Linked DNA regions of Homo sapiens: all the other regions are linked to region 1. The links are contacts of gene promoters, found by promoter capture Hi-C in blood cells and fetal thymus (Javierre and others, 2016). All regions are on one chromosome and are shown on one strand. The core of a region is centred on a gene start or on the middle of the fragment in contact, and the rest is flanking DNA. Distances in the headings are between cores, read along the strand shown.

Evidence for each region. Contacts are between HindIII fragments. The CHiCAGO score rates a contact against its expected background, and 5 or more counts as called.
Region 2: a fragment that was not itself captured here is called in contact with the fragment with the promoter of IMPA2 in region 1 in 1 of 17 cell types (neutrophils); the score reaches 8.4 in neutrophils.
Region 3: a fragment that was not itself captured here is called in contact with the fragment with the promoter of IMPA2 in region 1 in 1 of 17 cell types (neutrophils); the score reaches 7.0 in neutrophils.
Region 4: a contact is called between a fragment that was not itself captured here and the fragment with the promoter of IMPA2 in region 1, in 2 of 17 cell types (total CD8 T cells and neutrophils). The highest score is 8.3, in total CD8 T cells.
Region 5: a contact is called between a fragment that was not itself captured here and the fragment with the promoter of IMPA2 in region 1, in 2 of 17 cell types (naive CD8 T cells and total CD4 T cells). The highest score is 6.5, in naive CD8 T cells.

What each region holds. Positions count from the first base shown.
Region 1 is chr18:11,979,061-11,983,598 of GRCh38, reverse strand. It overlaps IMPA2 (inositol monophosphatase 2), which reads right to left and starts at 2,092. Exons shown (of 8, transcript NM_014214.3): 1 at 1,834-2,092. The coding sequence starts at 1,929. RefSeq lists silencers at 1,555-3,034, 2,875-3,169. The HindIII fragment of the contact is 12,350 bases long and covers 381-4,538 here.
Region 2 is chr18:9,106,240-9,110,777 of GRCh38, reverse strand. The region is part of intron 1 of NDUFV2 (NADH:ubiquinone oxidoreductase core subunit V2); the gene reads right to left. Among named protein-coding and RNA genes, the nearest start is that of NDUFV2, 5.8 kb to the right of the region's middle. The HindIII fragment of the contact is 4,743 bases long and covers 1-4,402 here.
Region 3 is chr18:9,127,715-9,132,252 of GRCh38, reverse strand. The region is part of intron 7 of NDUFV2 (NADH:ubiquinone oxidoreductase core subunit V2); the gene reads right to left. All of the region lies in intron 2 of NDUFV2-AS1 (NDUFV2 antisense RNA 1), which reads left to right. Among named protein-coding and RNA genes, the nearest start is that of NDUFV2-AS1, 6.7 kb to the left of the region's middle. The HindIII fragment of the contact is 1,805 bases long and covers 1,734-3,538 here.
Region 4 is chr18:9,618,575-9,623,112 of GRCh38, reverse strand. PPP4R1-AS1 (PPP4R1 antisense RNA 1) reads right to left here. Exons shown (of 3, transcript NR_110773.1): 3 at 3,750-3,918. Among named protein-coding and RNA genes, the nearest start is that of PPP4R1-AS1, 6.0 kb to the right of the region's middle. The HindIII fragment of the contact is 2,301 bases long and covers 1,239-3,539 here.
Region 5 is chr18:9,916,476-9,921,013 of GRCh38, reverse strand. The region is part of intron 1 of VAPA (VAMP associated protein A); the gene reads right to left. Among named protein-coding and RNA genes, the nearest start is that of VAPA, 4.7 kb to the right of the region's middle. The HindIII fragment of the contact is 5,213 bases long and covers 40-4,538 here.

The DNA.
Region 1 (4,538 bases), core at 843-3,342:
ATAAAATATCTCTTAAGTTAAAAGTCATAGGAGCCTTAGAACTGTTCCTGCTCTATTGCAAGCTCTTTATGCACATTTGTTAAATAATAACATAAAATTTTAAAATCTTCTGTTTCTTCAAGGATCTAAATTTGAAAACCACAGAAACTCCTAACTTAGCTCGCCAGGGTTTACACAGCAATGTCTGAATCCTAAGCTGGCTTTTCACTGCCTCAAGGAAGAAAAGTTTTACAGTAGAACCTAAAAGTTCCTAAATATCTGGCTGATGCTTGCTCTGGAAGGAAAGCTGGGAGGCAGGGAAGGATGGAAGGAGAACCCGTGTTCCATGCACACAGCAGCTCTGCTTTCCAGGAAGAACGCTTGCACTGAAGCTACAAGCTTCATCTGCCTTGCAGGAAGGTTTAGGGTCCTCCTTTTCCTACAGGAGGGAAAGGTCAAAGGGTGGAGTTTCGCAACACTCTTAAATTCATTCATTCTTTACGGTCTGAGGCTTGGGTTCTTCAAACTACAAAGGGAAGGAAGGCCCTTCAACAAAAAATGAGTCTACTTAGTATTGCAGATTAATTTTTAAACAGGATTAGAGGATTTGCACCAAGGTAAAGCACTATCCACTTTATGACGACTCACTTCAAATTTAAGATTGATAACAGTCCGATTTCAACATCTAGGGAAACTGGTAGAGCATTTTCGGACTGTCAGACCTCAAAAAAGAAAACAAATGTTTGAATATAAAAGGCCAATCTGCTCTCAGCACACCTCCTGTCTCTAAAATCCCCGAAAACAATCACTTTTTTTTTTTTTTTTTGAGACGGAGTTTTGTTCTTGTTGCCCAGGCTGGTGTGCAATGGCGCGATCTCAGCTCACTGCAACCTTCGCCTCCCAGGTTCAAGTGATTCTCCTGCCTCAGCCTCCCAAATAGCTGGAACTAAGGCACGCGCCACCATGCCCAGCTAATTTTGTATTTTCAGTAGAGACGGGGTTTCACCATGTTGGTCAGGCTGGTCTCGAACTCCTGACCTCAAGTGGTCCACCCGCCTCGGCCTCCCAAAGTGCTGGGATTACAGGCGTGAGCCACTGCGCCCGGCCCACAATCACATCCTAAGAGACAAACATGGAGTAAGCCATCTTACAGTCCTGGGAGAACCAACACTCGCTTGCCTACCACTACCGTCGGTGTGTCAGGCACTGCTAAAGGTACTGAGGAAAGTGGAAGGAACAATCACAAAAATGAAAAAGAGAAGAGAGGAACTGCACTCCATTTTAAACTCTGCTCGCTGGTTTTCGGTAGCTCTGCGGCTCGGTTTTCATCCTTCCGGGCAGTGTAACAAGTTCCTCCTGAACTCTGAGTCCGTGGCCGTCGCGGAGCTGAGCCACTTTCAGGGTGTGGGTCAGAGTAAGTTTGGGTTGAGGATGCTGCAGCCAGGACAATCAAACGGCAGCCCAGCCAGATCCCCACGCGGCTGGGGCTTAGCCCCGGGCTTCCTACCGCGAGCTGAATCCGTTCATAGGTCCTTAAAAATCAACAGCCCCGTACGCTACCCCTGGAGAGATTTCTACATTCTGACCACTCACTCAAACGCAAAGGTCACGTTAGCCGCTGAACTCCAAAGCAGAGGGGCTCGCCGCCAGGGCTCCGGGAGTTGGAGAAGGGCGCGGGAGGTGTGTCCAGGACACCAGCACAAAGGCTCCTTTCACCGCTCCGCGCCCCGCGCCCTCGGGTGCGGACCCTGGGCGCCCGCCGGCTGCGCGCCAGGACCCCGCCACTCCAGGCGGCTCCCAAGGCCCACGCGCTTCTGCTCCGCCCGGACTTCCGAGCCCAGCCGTGGCGCTCACCTGTCCTGCCCGCAGCGCCAGCTGCACGGCCGCCTGGAAGCACTCCTCCCAGGGGCCGGCCGCCAGCGCCGCCTGGTCCTCGCCGCTCGGCTTCATCGCGGCCTCGCCGGGCCCCTCCACCTCCAGCCCCCCTCGGCGGGACTCCGGCTCCCACCGGATCCCGCCGTCCCGCCGCCAGGCTCCACACTCCCTGTGCCTGCTCCCGCAGCTCTGTGCCTAGTCCGCCGCCCGTCCCACACCTGCGCTGGCGGGAAGGGCAGCCAGCGGGCCGCGGGAGCCGTGCGTCCTGCTTTCCGCTCCCCACCCTCCGCCCCGCCCCGTGCCGAGCCCAGCCCAGCTCCCCGCCCCGCTCCCCGCCCAGCTCCCTGCTCCCGCGTCCGGCCCCGCTCTGCATTCCCCACCTCGCCCCTCGCAGAGCTCGGCCCCGCCCATTCCCCCCTCTTCCCCGCCCCTTGACGCTCCCGGCCCCGCCCCGCACCCGTTGCTGCTCCTGGCCTCTTCCCGCGCCGTGCCCGGCCCCGTCCTGCACCGCCCCTCCCGCTCCCGGCTGCGCCCCGTACCTGGCCCCGCCCCTCTGGGCTAGCCCTGAACACAAATCAGTGCCGAGCCTGGTCCCTCTCCGCTCCGCGCTTTACCTCCAGCCCCGCCCCTGTGGTGCAGCATCACCCTCCCCGCTCGAGGCGGACCCAACCCTGCTCCGCCGTGCCCCGTCCCGCAGCGCGCAGAGCGGGCTCCAACTCCTCTGAGCCTCGAGCCCCGCCTCCCTCAAGTTGAGCCGGGCCCGTGTCCAAGCCCCGCCCCACCGCCGCGCGCTGAGACAGGCCCCACCCCCGGCTCGTGCAGAACTCCGTACTGTTCTGGGTCAAGCGCGCGGAGGGCGGCTTGGGCCACCGCAGAGCTGGGAGGGAGGAGCTAGGAGCGGCTGTTTTGGGGGCCCGGGGCAGCTACTGTCTGGGTGGGACCGTGCGGTGCCGGCCCAGCCCCGGAGGTGCCGGGGAGCGTCCCGTCCGCGGATCCCCGCGCACGTGGTGCCGGGCGTCCCTTCATGGTCTGTGGCCGGATTCGGGCTCGAGCGCCAGGGGCGGCTGGGCCAGCACCTTCCGACCGGTCGCTTTTTGTTCGCGGAGGCCGCTGGGCGCTAGGCGTCGTTCTCGGCCTCGCAGGAGCTCAGACCGCCGAGCGCACAAGGCCGCAGTGTTCCTGCAAGCGGCCGCCCCGCGCGGCAAGTTTGGTCGCAAACAAGCTCTCCCTCCGCTAACCCCAAACACTGCGAGGACAGCGGCTGGACTTTATAAACTCTTCACACCCAAAACTCGAATTTGGAGACGGAACTGTGATTGCGATGAGCCTCTGTAGTGAGGAATGACCTTTCCAACCTTGGATTCTCTTGCTGGCCCATGTAAACATAAATAGGAGGCATTTCCCGAAAGAGTGGCCGCGTGGTTTCCAAGGTTAATTTCATAAGCCGCTCTGCCTGCCCGTTTTATAAAAGATGCTAACCCACGTAAAATTATTCTGGAGTGCCACTTCGGAGTCTGGGAGAATAATGGGAGTTTGTACAAGAACCTTGATGGGGCATTTTTTACACACTTAACCTAATAATGAAATTAAACGTTTTTAGTTTTTGAGTACTTTATGCTGAAACACCTTGTGGAGAAACTTTAAGTGTACCGTATAAGAGACAAAAAGTACAAACAGGAGGAATTACAAACAGGAAATACAAACACGCAGATATGGGTACAACTTTAGGGACTCTGGCCTCACCCAGAGCCCTAATCCTACGGCTCAGAAAACTAGACCAATTGCCCTGCCTCCCACCACGCCAGTTTGGGGCAGCTAAGGGCGCACTCCCCTCCATCTTTTTTGGGTTCTTATGTTTTTATGATGTTTAAGACAGAGGCCGGGTGCGGTGGCTCACGCCTGTAATCCCAGCACTTTGGGATGCCGAGGCGGGCGGATCACGAGGTCAAGAGATCGAGACCAGCCTGACCAACAAGGTGAAACCCCGTCTCTACTAAAAATACAAAAATTAGTTGGGCGTGATGGCAGGTGTCTGTAATCCCAGCTACTCGGGAGGCTGAGACAGGAGAATCCCTTGAACCTGGGAGGCTGAGGTTGCAGTGAGCCGAGATGGCGCCACTGCGCTCCAGCCTGGCGACAGAGTGAGACTCCGTCGCAAAAAAAAAAAAAAAAAAAAAAAGACAGCAGGACTTCAGAATGCACTTAAGATTGTGCTGTGAATGCGTTACTTTAAAAGAAATGCATTCTCTTGTTGATTTTCATGACAGGTTTTCATTAGCGGTCACTTCCAACACCAAGCAAACAAAGAAGTGGCAAAATGTCTCTTCCGCCTCTTCCCAGTTCTCCTTTCTGAACACCTCTGCCTGTGCTCCTGGTACTGTCACCCCATCTGGAAGCTCAGTTATATCTTTAGATAAACTTTCATGATAGATCCCAGCTTATCTAAACAACTGGAAAAAGAGTTAACTTTCTTTCCCAAATGACATATCTTAAGGCAGCGTAGTGTGGTTTTTAACAGCATGAGGCTTTGAAGCAGCCAGGTTTCCTAAATTAAAATATTGGCCTCTCTTCTTCCTTACTGTGTGGATTTGAGCAAGTTAAAAATAACCGGTTTTGCCTGTTTCTTCAACTGTAAAGTGGTCTTTGTAACCATTGTATGGGTTAATGTACTTGTGCTTGGAACG
Region 2 (4,538 bases), core at 782-3,281, 2.9 Mb after region 1:
CCAGAACTTTGGAAAGCCAAGCCCCATAGATCGCTTGAAGCCAGGGGTTTGATATCAGCGTGGGCAACATGGTGAAACCCTGTCTCTACAAAAAATACAAAAGTTAGCCAGGCATGGTGGCACATGCCTGTAGTCCCAGCCACTTGAGAGGCTGAGGTGGGAGCATCGCTTGCGCCCAAGAGGTTGAGGTTGCAGCGAGCCATGATCATGCACTGCACCCAAGCCTGGGAGACAGAGTGAGACCCTGTCTCAAAAAAGTAGTAAGTAAACAAACAATAAAGAAAGAAACAAACTAAATAGTGAAGATAAACTGATAAATCTTAGCTCTCGGTTTTTTTCAACTGGCATAAACTGTTATTCATCCCTATCAAGTTACAGGTGGCCTGAAAATGGCTTTGAAAATTGTTTTTTTGGTGTGTTTAAAGAATATCACCTATTTTACATTCATTGTAATGTCTACGTCAGACACTTTCAATAAAGGAATAAAACATTAAAAGTTCTCATTAACATCTTTACACTACTTACTGGGCCATTTCAATTTTGTTTCACTTTGAAATAAAGAGGCATTCCAGGACCAGGCTTAAAACTGGAAAAAACAACCTAGCTAGGCTGGAATGATTCAAAGAATAAGCTGAGTTCCCACCCACCCCCTTCTTTGAGTACAGTCTAGTCTTTTCTCTAGAATCTAGCTTCTCATTAGACTCTGAAATGTCTATACCTCAAGAAATTCCAATTGAGTCCAATTGAAAATCCAAGTAACTTCCTTTTTTTAAGAAGAAAAGCATGCAACCAAGTAACTTTTTTAAGTAAATAAGATCATAACCTAATATACAGCTCAAAATTAACAGTGGGTTTGAATTCTAGCTTATTTTTTTTTCAGTGTTTCAGAAGGAAAAGAAAAGATTTAAGCAGGCCAAAACAGTGACTGCCTTTTCGTTGGAGTCAAGTAAACTTGAGTGCCTCTGTGTTAAGCTCTTCTACATACTTTTTTTCGTCGATTCCTAAAAAATCTGTAGTGAGTCATTATTTCCATTTTACATTTAGAGAAACTCAGGCTCAAAGACAGTAACTTGCCCCATACCGCACAATTAGTGACAGACCTGGATTTTGAGCCCAGGCTCTTTCAATCTAAGGGCCCTGTGCTCTTTCTACCAGCCTTTCCCTTTTACTGTCACTGGCAATACCAATAGCTCAAAATGACAAAAATTAAAGTTTTATATTCTCCCCAATAGGATTCCTTAATTGTCTTTTCATGGGCTCTACTCTTTTTCTGAATTTCTTCTGTTGTTCAAACAATACTACCATCCAACGAAGCTCACTTTTCAGTTCTATCAGACATTTGCATTATAAATGCATCCAGCTAAGAGAAGTTAATAAGAGACTAAGAAGCTGTAAGACAAAACTGACAGAAGCAGTAATCTAATTAGTCAGAAAGACAAGACTAAGGTCAGGCAATTCAAAAACCCTTCTTTTTTCCTTTATTAGAGGCCAACTAAGGCAAGGAATATACCTTTTAGATGATCCCTAATATTTACAGATTAAATCCACCAAGATATCTATTTGCCTGTGCAAGAGTCACAGTGCACACATGAAACATCTCTAGTGAATCCAAAGTGGTCTGAGGTCCCTCCGTGCCTTCCTCTCACTGTTCACAACATCTGCTGACTTGTTACCTACAGCCTCCCCTATTGCCAGCTCAAGCAAGAAAACTGAAACCTCCTAAAAAAGTCAGGGTCTGCAATACATTCATTCAGACTAGGTAATTTTACATTTAAAAAAAATCCTTGAGGCTGGGTGCAGTGGCTCATGCCTGTAATCCCAGCACTTTGAGAGCCGAGGCAGGTGGATCACTGGAGGTCAGGAGTTTGAGACCAGCCTAGCCAACATGGTGAAACCCCATCTCTACTAAAAGTACAAAAATTAGCCGGGTGTGGTGGCACGCACCTTTAATCCCAGCTACTTGGGAGGCTGAGGCAGGAGAATCGCTTGAACCCGGGAGGCAGAGGTTGCAGTGAGCCAAAATCACGCCACTGAACTCCAGCCTGGGCAACAGAGTAAGACTCTGTCTCAAAAAAAAAAAAAAAAAAATTCCATGAAAAACAAAAGTTTTTCAGTGCATTTTATTTTAACAAAGTTGATGCTGGGTTAATAATTGTGAAATCTATTTCAAGGATAATCATAAATACAAATGCTTACTCTATGTCAGATCTCATGCTATAAACTACAAATCTACACTATAATCCATTTATTCCTCTCAGCAAGCCTACCAAGTAGGTATTATTATCTTGTTTTACAGGTGAGAAAATTAAGGCTCAAAGAAGGGGGAAAAACTTTCCCTAGCTCACACAGCTAAATAAATGAAATGCCACATACAGATTTTCCTGACTTCAGTACATGCCTTAACCACTAAAATTTAAGTTTTGCTGTATTTTCAGATAGAAATAGGAGGACTTTTACAAACATCCTCCAAATAAAGTTCCATCAGTAATTTACCTAAAAATGTTAATTCAGGTTAAAATGTAAGTAATTTTTACCATACTATGAGAGAATTAACAAATGTAATTTGGCTAAATTTTATATTATAGAAAAGCTGCATGAAGAGCCCAGGTATTACAGGCACTGTGCATTACAGATTAAGATAACAGCATTAATGATTCCAGCCATCTTGACCATATATTAAAGAAAACATTCTTTAGATATCTAAAATCCCACATGGATATAAGCAACAACCAATTGTTCTAAGGACAAGAATAATTTATAGAAATGAAATGCCCATCCAGTGGACCCGGGGTTCAGTCTCACCTCATGCACTTCAGTGTCTTTGTATATGTAGCTAGCTATACCTACAGCATTATCTCAACTTACACCTTCCACTCATCCATCATGACCAAGGTTAACCTCCTCCTCTTACCCCTTTAAAGCCCCTAAACCTCCATCTCCTACCCCTTTAAAGCCCCTAAACCTCCATCTCTTTTCCCTAAGCAAAGTGAAATCATTTCCCTAGTCTGCTTACACTGGTACACCTTTTATTATTAGAGTGCCTATTAAATTTAAATCTTCACCATACATAGTGATTTCCCTTAGCAACTTCAATTGTTTGAGCAACTTCAGAAAGGTAGATTAAAAACAAAACAAAACAGGACTTGCGAATAAACCCAGCCCTTACTACTGTGTGATCTTGGGCATTTATTTGTCCAGCAATCTTCATATATCTCACACATAAAATGGGGTAACACCTAGCAAAATATCCGACAGATAAAGCCACCTTCCCCCTAACCAAAATGTGTGTAAACTGTCTTTGATGTTTTGTAATGAAAGACATTTCCTACAACTGATTTATAACATGCTTCCTGAACTGATTCAAAAACTAGTGACAAGGTTCCTCATTGGAAAATCAGACTGACTGTCACTCAATAGGTTATACAGCATGGGCAACAGACCTGTAATTTATTACTCAATGTTCTGAGCACTAAGGTACTAAACAGTGCCCAAAGAGAAAGGAAAGTCAACTTTTTATTACTTTGAAATGGAAACTGAGTTCAAGTCTCTAATAAAAAGATCCGAGTCTGCAGTTTGCAATAGTGGCCTACTGAACCTCACTGCATAAACTAAAGTTTGTTCATTCTCTCTCTCCTTAAACTGCTAATTTATGGCTATGGCAGGCAGAATAATGGTCTCTCAAAGATAACCACATCCTAATCCTGGAAACCTGTGAGTATTAGTTTACACAACAAAAGAGAATTAAGGCTGCTAATCAGCCGACCTTAAAATAGGGAGATTATCCTGGATTATCTAGGTGGGCCCAATGTCATCAATCACAGGGTTCTTACCAAGAGGCAAGGAAGGATATGTGATGAATGCCAGGAGGGTCGAAGTGATGTGATATAAGAACTAGACTTGCCTTTGCTGGCTTTGGAGATGAAAGAAGGGGCCAAGAGCAGCCTCTAGAAGCTGGAAAAGCCAAGAAAAGACATTCACCTCTAGAGCCTCCAAAAAGGAATGAAGCTCGGGCTACACTTTAATTTTAGCCCACTGAGACCTGTGTCACTTTTAACCTACAGAACTGTAAGGTTAAAAATATAATGTTTTATGCCACAAAGTTTTGTGGAAATTTGTTACAGCAGGAATAAAAAACTAAATGTTTTGGGGTGTTTTTCCTACATTAACTTCTTTAGAGTCCTTTGAGTCACAATGGAGATACACTGGGACATTACAAAATCAAGTTTAAGAATCTCTAATGGAATGGGGAAAACATTTCATTGTACAAAACTTAAAATTTGGAAGGAAAAGTACCACCACACAAGATGGCATACTTCTAGTATGGCTAAGTAGACACTGTCAGGGCAAACCACTGAATAATAACTATAAACTCTGGACAAAATATTTTATAAAAACAAAAGCTTTCTGAAGGCACTGGGGAACAACCAAACAGGCAGACACAGAAGGGGAGTCTACATTCATAAAAAACCAATGAGGTTTTTGTTTTTTCTTCACATCTTTTAGCCTGAAGGCAGGCCTCAGTGAGAGTTTGGAACAAC
Region 3 (4,538 bases), core at 1,387-3,886, 2.9 Mb after region 1:
TTTCCGGAACAATAAATGGGAGAATTAATCGTAAGTACTTCCTGAGTTCTTCACAGGATTATAGAATTTTATATATGGAAGTAATTTTAAAAATAATCTGGTCTAGAGTTTCCTAAAGTTTGTTCCATAAAATTACAATCCCATGGCATTGTATAGAAAAACGGGAGTCCCAGTGATCCAGTATGTCTGGCTGTAAACCTCCCTTCCTCGCCATTCACACAGTGTACCTTAAAATACTACAAAGGCTACAAAAATCCTCCAATAAAGCCTATAATTTTGTTTAATCTACTAAAAATGTAACCCCCCCTTTCATCTGTAAACATGCCTCAGAACACTCAAGAGGCAGTGAGCTAGCCCTATCCACTCACCTGACAGCCACAATTTACACTAGTGTTTTTCACTTACTAAACAAAAAATGATTTTCCTGATATCTCATGCTTAAAATGCCATCTAATAATTACATCTTCACTAAAATTTAAAAAGTATGGTTCGTCAGTCATTCCAACACTATACGTATGTGTACCATTTTAACTTATTTGCTTTCTAGAAAACTTGGCCTTTCTGTAAACTTTCATGGCTTAAAGTACTTTACATAGACAAATTACTTTATAAAAGTTTAGTGCTTTTTACTATTGCTGAGATATATCCAGCACTGTCCCTACTTTTAGTATAAAAAACCAAAAGTGATGTTATTGTCTAGAGTCATCTACCAACCGCATTGGAACTGTAGCCTAGCTCTAAATATGAAGAATTAAAGTTGGATTTAAAATGAGTTATAAACTAATCCATACTAAAAAATTTCTACCTATTAGTAACCTGAAAACAAGTTTAGAATTTTTCAGTACTTTAAATTCACTGAAAATAAGAACAATCTCAGCACAAAAATATTTAGTAATGTCAAGATTAAGAGACTACAGCTGACCCTGAACAACACAGGTTTGAACTGCATGGGTTCACTTGTACATGGATTTTCTTCAGCCTCTGCCACCTCTGAGACAGCAAGGCCAACCCCTCCTCTTCCTCAGCCTATACAACATGAAAATGATAAGACTTGTACTATGATCCACTTAATGAAGAGTAAATATATTTTCATTATGATTTTAATAACATTTTCTTTTCTCTAGATTATGGTAAGAATACAGTCAGTATATAATACAGACAACATGCAAAATATGTGCTGACTATGTTATTTGTTAAGGCCTTCAGACAACTGCAGGCTATGAGTAAAGTTTTGGAGGAGTCAAAAGTTACACACAGATCTTCAACTGCATGAGCAATCAATGTCCCTAACGCCCATGGTGTTCAAGAGTCAACTGTATTATCTTACCACTGCTTTAATATTTTCAGTGGTCATTCACCAACGATAATACAAAAGCAGTTTTGAACCACATATAGACATCAGTCTTTTACTAATTTTGGCCAGGGTAAGACCTGGCAGTGGTACTCAGGAATCAGTTACTATTGAACCAGTTTAATTCCTCTCGGTTTTTCATTACAGAGACGCACAATTAGTACCTCTTTCAAAGAGCAGAGATATTTATTATTAAAATACCAATAAAAAAGAATTAGACAGCTTTGGTTAATTTAGAATAACTATAACTATATTATGGTTATTGCTATCCCAGTCTCTGTCATTATCCTATATATCCAAGATATTGGGTAAGTAAAGTGAAAAGTTCTTGTTTTCATATGCTGACAAGACATTCTAGTATTGCTATGTCCAAATACAAGCTTTATATAATACAGCATTGGTGGATGCTTGCAATTATTGAAACCTAAGTAGACTTTTGTCTGCTTTTTAAATAAGAGGTAGTAAGTAAAAAAAGAGATTCGGACACGAATAATTTTGAAGTATTTGGCTCAAATCCAGAACACTGTCAAGAAAATCTCAGCGAAAAACTATTCATGATTACTGATAAGTAACATCCCTATTATTATCAGATGTTGTTGAAAATGCTTAACTGAGTACTTAGTTCCTGCTTATTGTTAAAATACAATGTTATAGTACCTCATATTACAAATAACAGATTTTAATTTCACCCCGATAATGTCATCCAGATTTATAACTTTAAATACTACCCTTAGTAACTGATGAATCCCCAATTTGTGTTTCCAGCCCTAACCTATTCCCTATATTCCAGGTTCGTATCTACCTATCAGCATCATACCATGGATGTCTTAACAGGCATCTCAAACTTACTATGTCTAAAACAAAATTTGACTTTTCTTCCCCAAACTTGCCCTACCACAAATCTTCTCTATTTTCGGTAAAGGAACCTCAGAGATGCTCAAGCCAAAAAGCTGAAAATCACTCATAAATCCTTAGTCCCACATATCTACTAAATTCTAATCTCCACATAGCAACTATGGCAGTATTTTAAGATTGCTCATTCCATTCCCTACTGAAAACATTCCAACAGTTTTTATTATATTTAAGATTCAGCCCAGATTACTTATCTGGGCCCTTATCTCCTCTGACCCCTTCCACTGCTTTCTTGCTTGAGCACCTCACTGCAGCCATACTGTTACCTTACTTTTCTTCCAGGACCCTGATACATCCTCTTTCCCCTCCCTGGAACATTGTTCCTTCAGCTCTTTACATGGTTCCCTCTAGCTCTTCATTCAGGTCATGGCTCAAATGTTACCACCTCTAAGCGGCCTCTCCTCACTAAATTTACTCCCTATCTATCCCCTAACACCTGCTACATTTTATTGTGTAGCCTTTTTATCACTCACATATTACACTAGTCATCTGTCTCCATCACTAGAAGATATATGAGAACTTTATCTTGTTCATAATTGTATTCATAACCTAAAATAATGCCTGACACACAGCAGGCACTCAAAAAAATTTGTGAAAAAAATTACTGTTGAGTATTTAATGTAATGTGACATAACAAAGTAGACAAAGCAGGTATCAATTTGTGTGGCAGGAGAGTAATACTAGATTAATATGAACCATAGATCCCACAGTTCACAAGAAGCAAAGCAGAAGATTCTAAACGCCAAAGTGGCCGGGCGTGGTGGCTCAAGCCTGTAATCCCAGCACTTTGGGAGGCCAAGGCAGGCAGATCACTTGAGGTCAGGAGTTCGAGACCACCCTGGCCAACATGGTAAAACCCCGTCTCTACTAAAAATACAAAAATTAGCTGGGCATGGTGGTGGCACGTTCTTATAGTCCCAGCTGCTCGGGAGACTGAGGCAGGAGAATCGCTTGAGCCTGGGAGGCAGAAGTTGCAGTGAGTCGAGATCACACCACTGCACTATAGCCTAAGTGACAGAGCAAGACTCCATCTCGGGTGAGGGGAGGAGTGGGGGGGAGGAAGCCCAACACCAAAGTTATGACTATAGAATTCAAAACATCTAATCAGAAGAGAGGGGCCATCTAAAGAACCCAAGTGGATTTCACAAGGAAATCTGCACTTGAGATATTCTTTAGAGTACCCAAAAGGTGAAAGAAGTTATGGGCTGAAGTACAAACCTAAGAATAGCATGAATTTATTTTAAAATACCTGAATCCTAAAAAGCAGATGAAGCTTGTGGAAAATATTATGAAATTTGTACTTTTTGGGGGGACAGTGTCTATTTAAAGCAAGAATAAGTAAGGGATAGGAGCACTAGCTAAGAAAGATACTGTAATGATAGATGACTAAAGGTTTTACTTCAGTTGCCTCCATAAAGGAGAATGATTTTTCACCAGGGAAATGATTTACCTCCTAAAAAAAGGGGTATACCCAAGAAAGTGAGGAATTAGGAAGAAAATGCCAACACTCTTTAAGCAAATTCAATTCTATAGGCTCAGGTTGTTAAGAACAGTATACGTTTCTTAGAAAAGAAAGTAATGGTCAACAGGGGCCAGCTAGCATTTACTAAACTTAAGTTATCCTGAACTGACCTCATTTTCTCATTAAGTAGGGTATTATTAGTAGTTTTAGAGAGCAAACTCTAGAACCACTCATACCCTCTTAGTAATTCTACTTCAGGGAATTGTTATTTATAATAAAGCTTAAGAAAAATATTTTAAAACGGGAGTAAGAGCACATCACAGCTGTTTTAAAACATTAGAATACCGTATGGACATCAAAAACTCCAAATGTGCTGAGGGAAGAAAAAATTTATATACATAAACAAAAAATTTGAGGGATTATGACTAAAACCATGAGAACATTTGCTAGTATTAAGAGAGAATTTTGAGTGATTGAACACATACATGGAATAAGGGTTTGTTTAAAAGTGAAAATCCAAGTTCATAACTGAAAGGAAAGTAATTAATGTAACACAGGTATGGGACGGGAGCAACCTGGATAAATAGTGAACAGAAAAAGATCTAGGTATTATGAAGTGCAGTTAATTGTGTAATGTCTCTGAAGTAGGAGTTGATATAATTAGGCACAATTATTACAAGCATAATGTCTGGAACAAAGGAGGCAGTCCCACAATGCTCTGTGCTGCTCAGTATGTATCTCAAAATACCATGATTAGGCCGGGCACAGTGGCTCATGCCTGTAATCCCAGCACTTTGGGAGTCTGAAGCGGGC
Region 4 (4,538 bases), core at 1,140-3,639, 2.4 Mb after region 1:
AAATGTCCAGAATAGAGAAATCCATAGGGACAGAAAATACATTACTGGTTACGCAGAACCGGGGTTGTTGTAGTGGCAATCAGGAGTGACTGTTAATGATACGTGTTTCTTTCTGGGGTTATGAAAATGTTCTCAAATTAGATGTGATGGTCACATAACTGAATATTCTAAAAACTAAAGAATTGTACATTTTAAATAGGTACATTTTATTTTATTTATTATTATTATTTTTTTGAGGCAGGGTCTTATTCTGCCACCCAGGCTGGAGTGCAGTGGCACGAGCACAACTCACTACAGCCTCCACCTCCTGGGTTCAATCCATCCTCCCACCTCAGCCTCCTGAGCAGCTGGGACTACAGGCGTGCATCACCACACCCAGCTAATTTTTGCATTTTTTGTAGAGATGGGGCCGCACCATGTTGCCTAGGCTGGTCTTGAACTCTTGGGCTCAAGCAATCCGCCTGCCTTGGTCTCCCAAAGTGTTGGGATTACAGGCATTGGCCACCTCGCCCAGCTAAATGGGTAAATTTTATAGTCTATAATTTATATCTCAATAAAGCTATTTAAAGTTTTGGGGTTTTTTGTTTTTTTTTGTTGTTGTTGTTGTTTTAAACGGAGTTTTGCTCTTTTTGCCCAGGCTGGAGTGCAATGGCACAATCTCGGCTCACTGCAACCTCTGCCTCCCAGGTTCAAGAGATTCTCCTGCCTCAGCCTCCCAAGTAGCTGAGATTACAGGCATGTGCCACCACACCTGGCTAATTTTTTATTATTATTTAGTAGAGACAGGGTTTCACCATGTTGGTCAGGATGGTCTCAAGCTCCTGACCTTAGGTGATCCACCCTCCTCAGCCTCCCAAAGTGCTGGGATTACAGGCATGAGCCACCACGCCCGGCTAAACTTTTTTTTCTTTTTTCCCCCCAAGACGGAGTCTCCCACTGTCGCCCAGGCTGGAGTGCAGTGGCGCGATCTTGGCTCACTGCAAGCTTCGCCTCCCAGATTAATGCCATTCTCCTGCCTCAGCCTCCCGAGTAGCTGGGACTACAGGCGCCCGCCATCACGCCCGGCTAATTTTTTGCATTTTTAGTAGAGACGGGGTTTCACCATGTTAGCCAGGGTGGTTTCAATCTCCTGACCTCGTGATCCGCCCACCTCAGCCTCCCAAAGTGCTGGGATTACAGGCGTGAGCCACCGCGCCCGGCCTAGGCTAAACTTTTTTAAATATAGGACTTTGAAAGCTTTAAAAAATAGGTAAACATAAACTGTTTGGGGGTATTATCTCTAAATTTTTGGAGATTTTAGTTTTTTCTTTATACTTTTCTGGGCACTCCAAAAACATGTATTTTTGTAATTGGAAAATTCAGAAAAGAATAAATGTTACAAAGATGTAGAATTCCGGCCGGCCATGGTGGTTCACACCTGTAATCCCAGCTCTTTGGGAGGCCAAAGTGGGAGGATTGCTTGAACCCAGCAGTTCAAGACTAGCCTGGGCAACAAAGTGAGACCGCATCTCAAAAAAAAAAAAATATGTAGAATTCCACCCCTCCCAACACCTGCCACATACCTACAAGCAGCAGCAACAACAAAACCTCCTAAAAAACCAAGAACATCGTTTGAGGGAGAAGTGAGTTGGCACCTGAGTTCAAGATTGTCTACCTGGATGATTTGTCCGAATAATGAAATGGTGGCAAACTGCAGCCATTCAAGCCAAGGGCAGCTGGTGAGAGGACACTGTTAAGGCACTTGCTTGGGAATTTCACAGAATTGTGATGAACAAAATATTATATGAGAAAGATAATTTTTGTATACTTGGCCAGAATAATTGAAACAGGCTAGTTAAAAAGTTATTAGTATGGTTTTGAAGTGGTTAATATCTTGGTCAGGATATTGAGTGAGAAACGGAGTGAAGAGGTGACTCCTAAAATGTTTCAATGACAAAATCCTCAGGGAACAGTGATAACTTAGATGGAATTAGAGATTATACCAAGACCATACATGTTGAAAGACTAGAAGTTCTCTTAATGCGAAAGAAGTTGACGAAGGACCATTTTGACAGAAAAGCTATGAATGTGAGGATACGCAAACGCTATTGCCATTATTTAGAATCAGGATTCCAGTGTTTGAATACTAATTCCCCTATTTGCTTGCTTGCTTGCTTTCTTTCTTTTCTTTTTTTTTTTTTTTTTTGAGACAGTCTCACTCTGTCACCCAGGCCAGAGTGCAGTGGTGTGATCTCGGCTCACTGCAAACTCCACCTCCTGGGTTCAAGAGATTCTAATGCCTCAGCCTCCCGAGTAGCTGGGATTACAGGCATGTGCCACCACACCCAGCTAACTTTTGTATTTTTAGTAGAGACAGGGTTTCACCATGTTGGCCAGGCTGGTCTCGAACCCCTGGCCTCAAATGATCCACCCACCTCGGCCTCCCAAAGTGCTGGGATTACAGGTGTGAGCCACTGTGCCAGGTCATTTGCTTTTTGATCTTTGTCAAAATACCCAACCTTTCTGAGCTTCGATTTCCTTTATTTTTAAAATGGTAATATCAATTTCTACTTCACAGGGCTGTTTTAAATAATCAGAAAGCACATAAAAGTGCTTAACAGGCTGGACGCGGTGGCTCACACCTGTAATCCCACCACTTTGGGGGGCCGAGGCAGGTGGATCACTTGAGGTCAGGAGTTTGAGACCAGCCTGGCCAACATGGTGAAACCCCGTCTGTACAAAAAAAAAAAAAAAATATATATATATATATACAAAAATTAGCTGAGTATGGTGGTGGGCGCCTGTAGTCCCAGCTACTCAGGAGGCTGAGACAGGAGAATCGCTTGTACCCGGGAGGCGGAGGTTGCAGCAAGCTGAGATTGCAGCAAGCTGAGATTGTGCAACTGCACTCCAGCCTGGGTGATGGAGCGAGATTCCATCTCAGAAAAAAAAAAAAAAAAGAAAAAAAGAAAAAAAAAGAAAAAGCGCTTAACATGATGCCTGGCACACGCTCTGAAAAATGTTTCATATATACGGTAATATTACCATTGGGGGAACTGATGTGAAAGTGACATAGGACATCCTGGCACATCATTTGAAACTTCATGTAAATCTGTAATTGTTTCTAAATAAAAAGTTAGAAAATGTATTAGCTATCTAGTCTGGGAATTATATTGTGTCATTGTGCTAATATTTTTCCCACCAAAGGAAGGAACCAAGGACCAGAGACACAAGCAATTTGTTACAAACAGTTACAGAGAAGTGAAATGAGAATGGAAGTAATTTCTTCTGAATCATATTACCATAGAGCAGCCTTAGTGTGAAGGGAGCTTAGAGTCAGGGCAGTTAACCACTGAACTTATCTGGGTTTGAATATGTGGTTTGCTATGGTTTATTTCCTGGTTCAACTTGACTCATCCATTCAGATTCAGAATAATAAACATTTAAACATTTAAAATAATAAGCATCTAAAATGATAAGCATTTCCTCCACACGTACTCTGTGCCAGGCATTGTGGAAGCCTCTCCCATATTGCTTTGAATGGGATTGCAACTAAAGCTTTCTAAATTCTAAGAGAAAGGCACAAAGGAAATTTACTACTGCCACTCTAATCCATTTAGTGCTCACTGTTTAAACATCTTTGTTTTCTCTTAATGAAATTAAAATGTGTGGAACAAATTGTGTAGGATGTAGTACCTCATCAGTGGGGAATTCTTTTGCCTCTACTAACCTGGAGCACTGGGAAAAGCACGGGAGTAGGGAACATAGTGGATAAGAAAAAGAGGGTTTATTTTCCTTTATACTCAGTTTACAGTAGTGATTCCAGCAGGATGCACTATTTTGTTCAGAAAAAGCTGATGCTAAGAAACTTGGAGCTGTGGCTGACGACCTTGGGACAGAGCTGAAGTTCTGTTGCATTCTCGGGGCAGTGTTCAGCTCCTGTAAATGTAGAAAGAACAGCCTGAATCAGGGTAACTCTGTATAGAGCTCAGTTCTGTAGGTATTTTTCTTCTCTTTTTTCTTTTCTTTTCTTCTCTTTTCTTTTCTTTTCCTTTCTTTCCCTCCCTCCTTCCCTCCCTCCCTCCCCTTCTTTCTTTCTCTCTTCTTTCTTAAGCACAGTGTGAGAAAATGTCTCTTTAGCTGATGTGAGTAAAGAGATCAAGTATCTTTGAAAAACTATGAAAGCTCTAGGAAAGGCTAAGGCTTCACATTCAGAATGTCACCTTGACAGGGAGCTTTAAAGGGAGATAGAAGAAGCATAGAGAGGAGGACAAGTAAAATTTCACAAATATACAATTTTTTTTTTTTTTTGAGACAGTCTCGCTCTGTCACCCAGGCTGGAGTGCAGTGGCGCGATCTTGGCTCACTGCAAGCTCTGCCTCCTGGGTTCACGCCATTCTCCTGGCTCAGCCTCCCGAGTAGCTGGGACTACAGGTGCCCGCCACCATGCCTGGCTAATTTTTTTGTATTTTTAGTAGAGACTGGGTTTCACTGTTAGCCAGGATAGTCTCGATCCCCTGACCTTGTGATCTGCCTGCCTCAGCCTCCCAAAGTGGTGG
Region 5 (4,538 bases), core at 1,397-3,896, 2.1 Mb after region 1:
CTAATGTGAAAGTACTGTTATTACAGGTAAGCACAAGCTTCAACAGTGGCATGAAGGCTCTGACCAACTTGGACTGGTAGAGTATCAACGACTTCTCAAGAGGAAGTGATTCTTGAAATAAGAGGCTGCCTGACAGACGTGAGGGAGGACAATATTCTAAGCAGAGCCTGTGCAAAGCATTGCAGTGGCCTGGAGTGTTTGGGAAAATGGTTTCATATAGCCAAAGTTATGGACAGAAGAAAAAGAATAGACACTGAGGCTGGAGAGTTAGGCAGTGGATTTTGGATTTTTCAAGTACATAGTAAGAAAACATTTAGAGTTCTTCAATCAAGGGACTAACAGTAACAGCCTCCTTTTTCCAAAGCGTAGTTCCAGCAGCAGTGTGGAGGACAGGGTAAAGAGCTGACAATAAAGGAGGCTGGGCACAGTGGCTCACGCCTGTCATCCCAACACTTTGGGAGGCAGAGGCAGGTGGATCACTTGAGGTCAGGGAGACCAGCCTGGCCCACAGGGCAAAACCCCGTCTCTACTAAAAATACAAAAATTAGCCAGGCATGGTGGTGCACGCCTGTAATCCCAGCTACTTGGGAGGCTGAGGCAGGAGCATCGCTTGAACTCGGGAGGCAGAGGTTGCAGTGAGCCGAGATAGCGCCACTGCACACCACCATGGGTGACAAAGCGAGACTCCATCTCAAGAAAAAAATGAAAGAAAGAAAGAAAAGAAAAGGAGATGTCTGCTGACTAGTAAATATAAAAGGACCTGAAGTAAGGAAATTATCCAAAGCCCAGACCTTTTCTTAAGTAACACACCCATTTAACCAAATCCACCTTCATGTTAATATCCTGAAAGACCTAAACATATCTACCATACGTCCTCCTCCTCCATCTCTCTCACACACCCCCAAATAAGATGCATTTCGTCCTCATCCAGACATCCACCGTTTCTCAAATAGCACCACCATTTCCCCAGTTATATAAGCAGAAATCTCAGACATTCATACCCTTTTCTCTCAGTGCACATAGAGACCACCAAGTCTCACAGATTCAACCTAACTTTTCATCACCTCCAATACCATGACCTCAGTCCAAGGGGTCACCACTTGCCAGTACTGCTGCAGCCGCCTAATTCATCTCTTTCTCCCCTCTAGTATAATTTTACATTGCTACCAGAATTATTTTTAAATGCAAATGTGATGTTATTCGATTCCCTCCATCTTTACTGCTCCTCCCCTCACTTAAAAACCCTAGTGGCTCAGGATAAAAACAAAACTCCTAACTTGACCTACTAAACCAGCACTACATTCATCTTGACTATTTTCACCACTGCCACGCCGACCTCTTTCAGTATGGTAAATGTTTCACAGTCCCTCCTGCTACCGGATATTTGAACATGCATTTTCCTTTCTTCTTCACCAGGATAACTTTTACTCATTGTTGGAATCTTAGTTCAACTGTGACAGCCTGATCGAAGACCCTTATTTTACATTCTCGTAGCACTATATAGCTCTTCAGGGGTACACTTTATTCTTCTGATTATTTTATTAGTATCTATCTCTCTTGTTAGAACTGCCCCATGAAAACATGGCTTGTGTTTCACTCACAACTGTAGTTCCAATATTTATTCATCATACCTGACATGTAGCAGATACTCAAATCTAATCAAATTAGATCCATAATTGAATGAATTTTAAAAATAAATGAATTTGGAAGTAGAAACACATTGAAGTGGACAAAGGGATTATGTCAAAAATAGAAACACAGATTTTAATTATTAGATATGCATATTGTTTCTGGTGTGAGTAATCATGATGCCACTAAAAAATAAAAATAAAGCCAAGTGCAATGGCTCAGGCCTGTAATCCCAGCACTTTAGGAGGCCAAGGCAGGAGGATCACGCAAGGTCAGGAGTTCGAGATCAGCCTGGGCAACACAGCGGCACCCCCATATGTACGTAAAAAATTAGCTGGGCATGGTAGCATGCACCTATAGTCCTAGCTATTCAGGAGGATCACTTGAGCCCAGGAGGTCACGGCTGCAGTGAGCCAAGAACGTGCATGCCACTGCACTCCAGGTTGAGCAACTGAGCAAGACCCCATCTCAAAAATAAAAATAAAAAATATGGGAAGAAGAGTAGGCATGGGTAGTAAAAATTTTGAGATATTTTGAGTTTAGAATATCATATCTGTGCAATATTCAAATCTAAATAGTGAATAAGTTGTTTGAGTATGTGCTCTTGACTGACGGTAAAATGTGAATTAAAACAGACTTGGGGGTGTAGCAATACCTGCAGAGAGCAAGGAAGATAAAGAGAAAACCTCAAAACAATGAAATGAACAAAGAAAGTTCACAGAGTGAGATAAATGAAACCAAATCAGAATCTCAGAAACATGAGCATTTGAGGAAAATGCCACAAATAAGACAATAAATGGAGCAAATAAGAAAATTAGAAGACAATGCTGTTATAGAAGCCAGAAGAATTGAGGGTTTTTTTTAGAGAAACTGTCGGTACTGTCAAGAGCCAGGGGGAGGTCAAGTAAGATAAAAACTGGAAATGATTAAGTTAGCAATAAGTAGTGAGAGGATAAAAGTACCGTGGACTAAGGAGAGAATAAAAGGTGAGTAACTGGAAAAACAGTGAATATGGACTATTTTTCCAAAAAGTCTGAATGCAAAGGAAATGAAGGACAGGGAGAGACACATACTAGAAAGAGTTATGGTCAAAGAAGTACATGTCTGCTCATTTGTTTTTAAAATCAAAGACTCTGGTGTATTTATATGTTAAAACAATGCAGCCAGTGATTGAAAACCAGCAGGAAAACATCTCATGGAACATGGTCTGAGTCATAAGGAATTTTACCTTAGCCAGCAAAAATAGAGGAACAAAGAACCTTGGGTATGAGCAGGGTTTTTCTTTCTCAGGGAAGAAAGTATGGATGTGTACAGACTAACAGGTGTTACAAGAGGAAGGCACATCATGGAAGAGATGGTATGTCTTACTGAAAAAAAAAAATCTGACTTTTATTCTGTGAGCAATTGAGAGTTACCTAAAAACTAAGGAATGGAGTAATATATGATTAAAGATTACATTCATGTCTTTAGAGCCCCAGGCGTTTTGTATAGCCACTGGGAAACATGAAGAGCCGACTGGAAACACCTAAAAATGTGCTAAATATCCATCCAGAGGAGTATTCTCTAATTTCCCCCCCGCCCCGTGCTGCTTCTATGCAGATGCACTAGCTGATGTTAACACCATACGTCCCTCGATCCCTCAGAGAGCTTAATTTTCTTTGTTGATTTATTGTTATCGGCCACTCTCAACATAAGGATTTTGGTTTATTTTCGTCTCTCTCTGATCATTAAGAATATATTTGAAATTTATTTTAGCATTTTATAAACTTTCTTCTTCAAACTTTTCTACAAAACTGCTAATAGGGGTCAGGTGCGGTGGCTCACGCCTGTAATCCCAGCACTTTGGGAGGCCAAGGCAGGCGGATCACCTGAGGTCAGAAGTTCGAGGCCAGCCTGGCAAAATCCCGTCTCTACAAAAAATTCAAAATTAGCTGGGCATGGTAGTGCATGCCTGTAGTTCCAGCTACTCTGGAGACTGAGGCAGGAGAATTGCTTGAACCCGGGAGGCAGAGACTGCAATGAGCCGAGATCGAGCCACTGCAACAGAGCAAGACTCCGTCTCAAAAAATAAAAAAATTTAAAAAAACTGCTAATAGGTAGAAAAATAAAATGTGTAATACATTATAAATGGAATTTTATCATGTAAAAAATTTTAAAGACAAAAAAAATCTTTCACATAAAATACCAAGTTTCAAATCTGAAATCTAGGTAAAATTACTTCCAAGGTTTAAACAGAATTTGAAGTAAAGCAGCGTCTACTTCTTTTTCTTTACTAACACAAGTGATCTACTTCAGAATTCATTACATCGTAAATGCACTTTTATATGTTAACGACTGTATAAAACAAACTTTTTTTTAAATACTGAGGTATACAGAAAAATGTACTGAAATAGTTGGTGTCTGCTTTTGCAAAATTGTGCAACATACTGTTAATTCATCTTCAAGATGCTTGTTAGGTGTATAAAAGAAAAACCATCCAATCTCAGAATGATTACCTGAGTCACTCCTGGAGAAACCATCTCAAACTCAGAATCAATAACTAAAATAAACCTACTAGAAGATGACAAAGAATTTTGCAAAACTGTCTTCTAAAAGTCCTTCACTTAGAAAGTTTTGAATGACTTAGGGTAAGTCAGTTAAATGATTTTTTTCTATCATAAACTAAGCCCAAGTAGACTGTACATTCTAAATGAATCTCCTCAGTGTTGAACTGTGCATTTAAATACACAAAGGTTTCCATCAAAGCCAACAATTTACCTTTGACTAAAACGATAATATTAAGGAATCAAACACCAAATGTCACCTCCCAATCCTCCCCATCATCTCCATCTTTAAACTGAAACACACAACAAACTATTGGGCATTTAAGTACCAGGCATTCTCTCACAGCAGTGTGTTTACTCAACCAC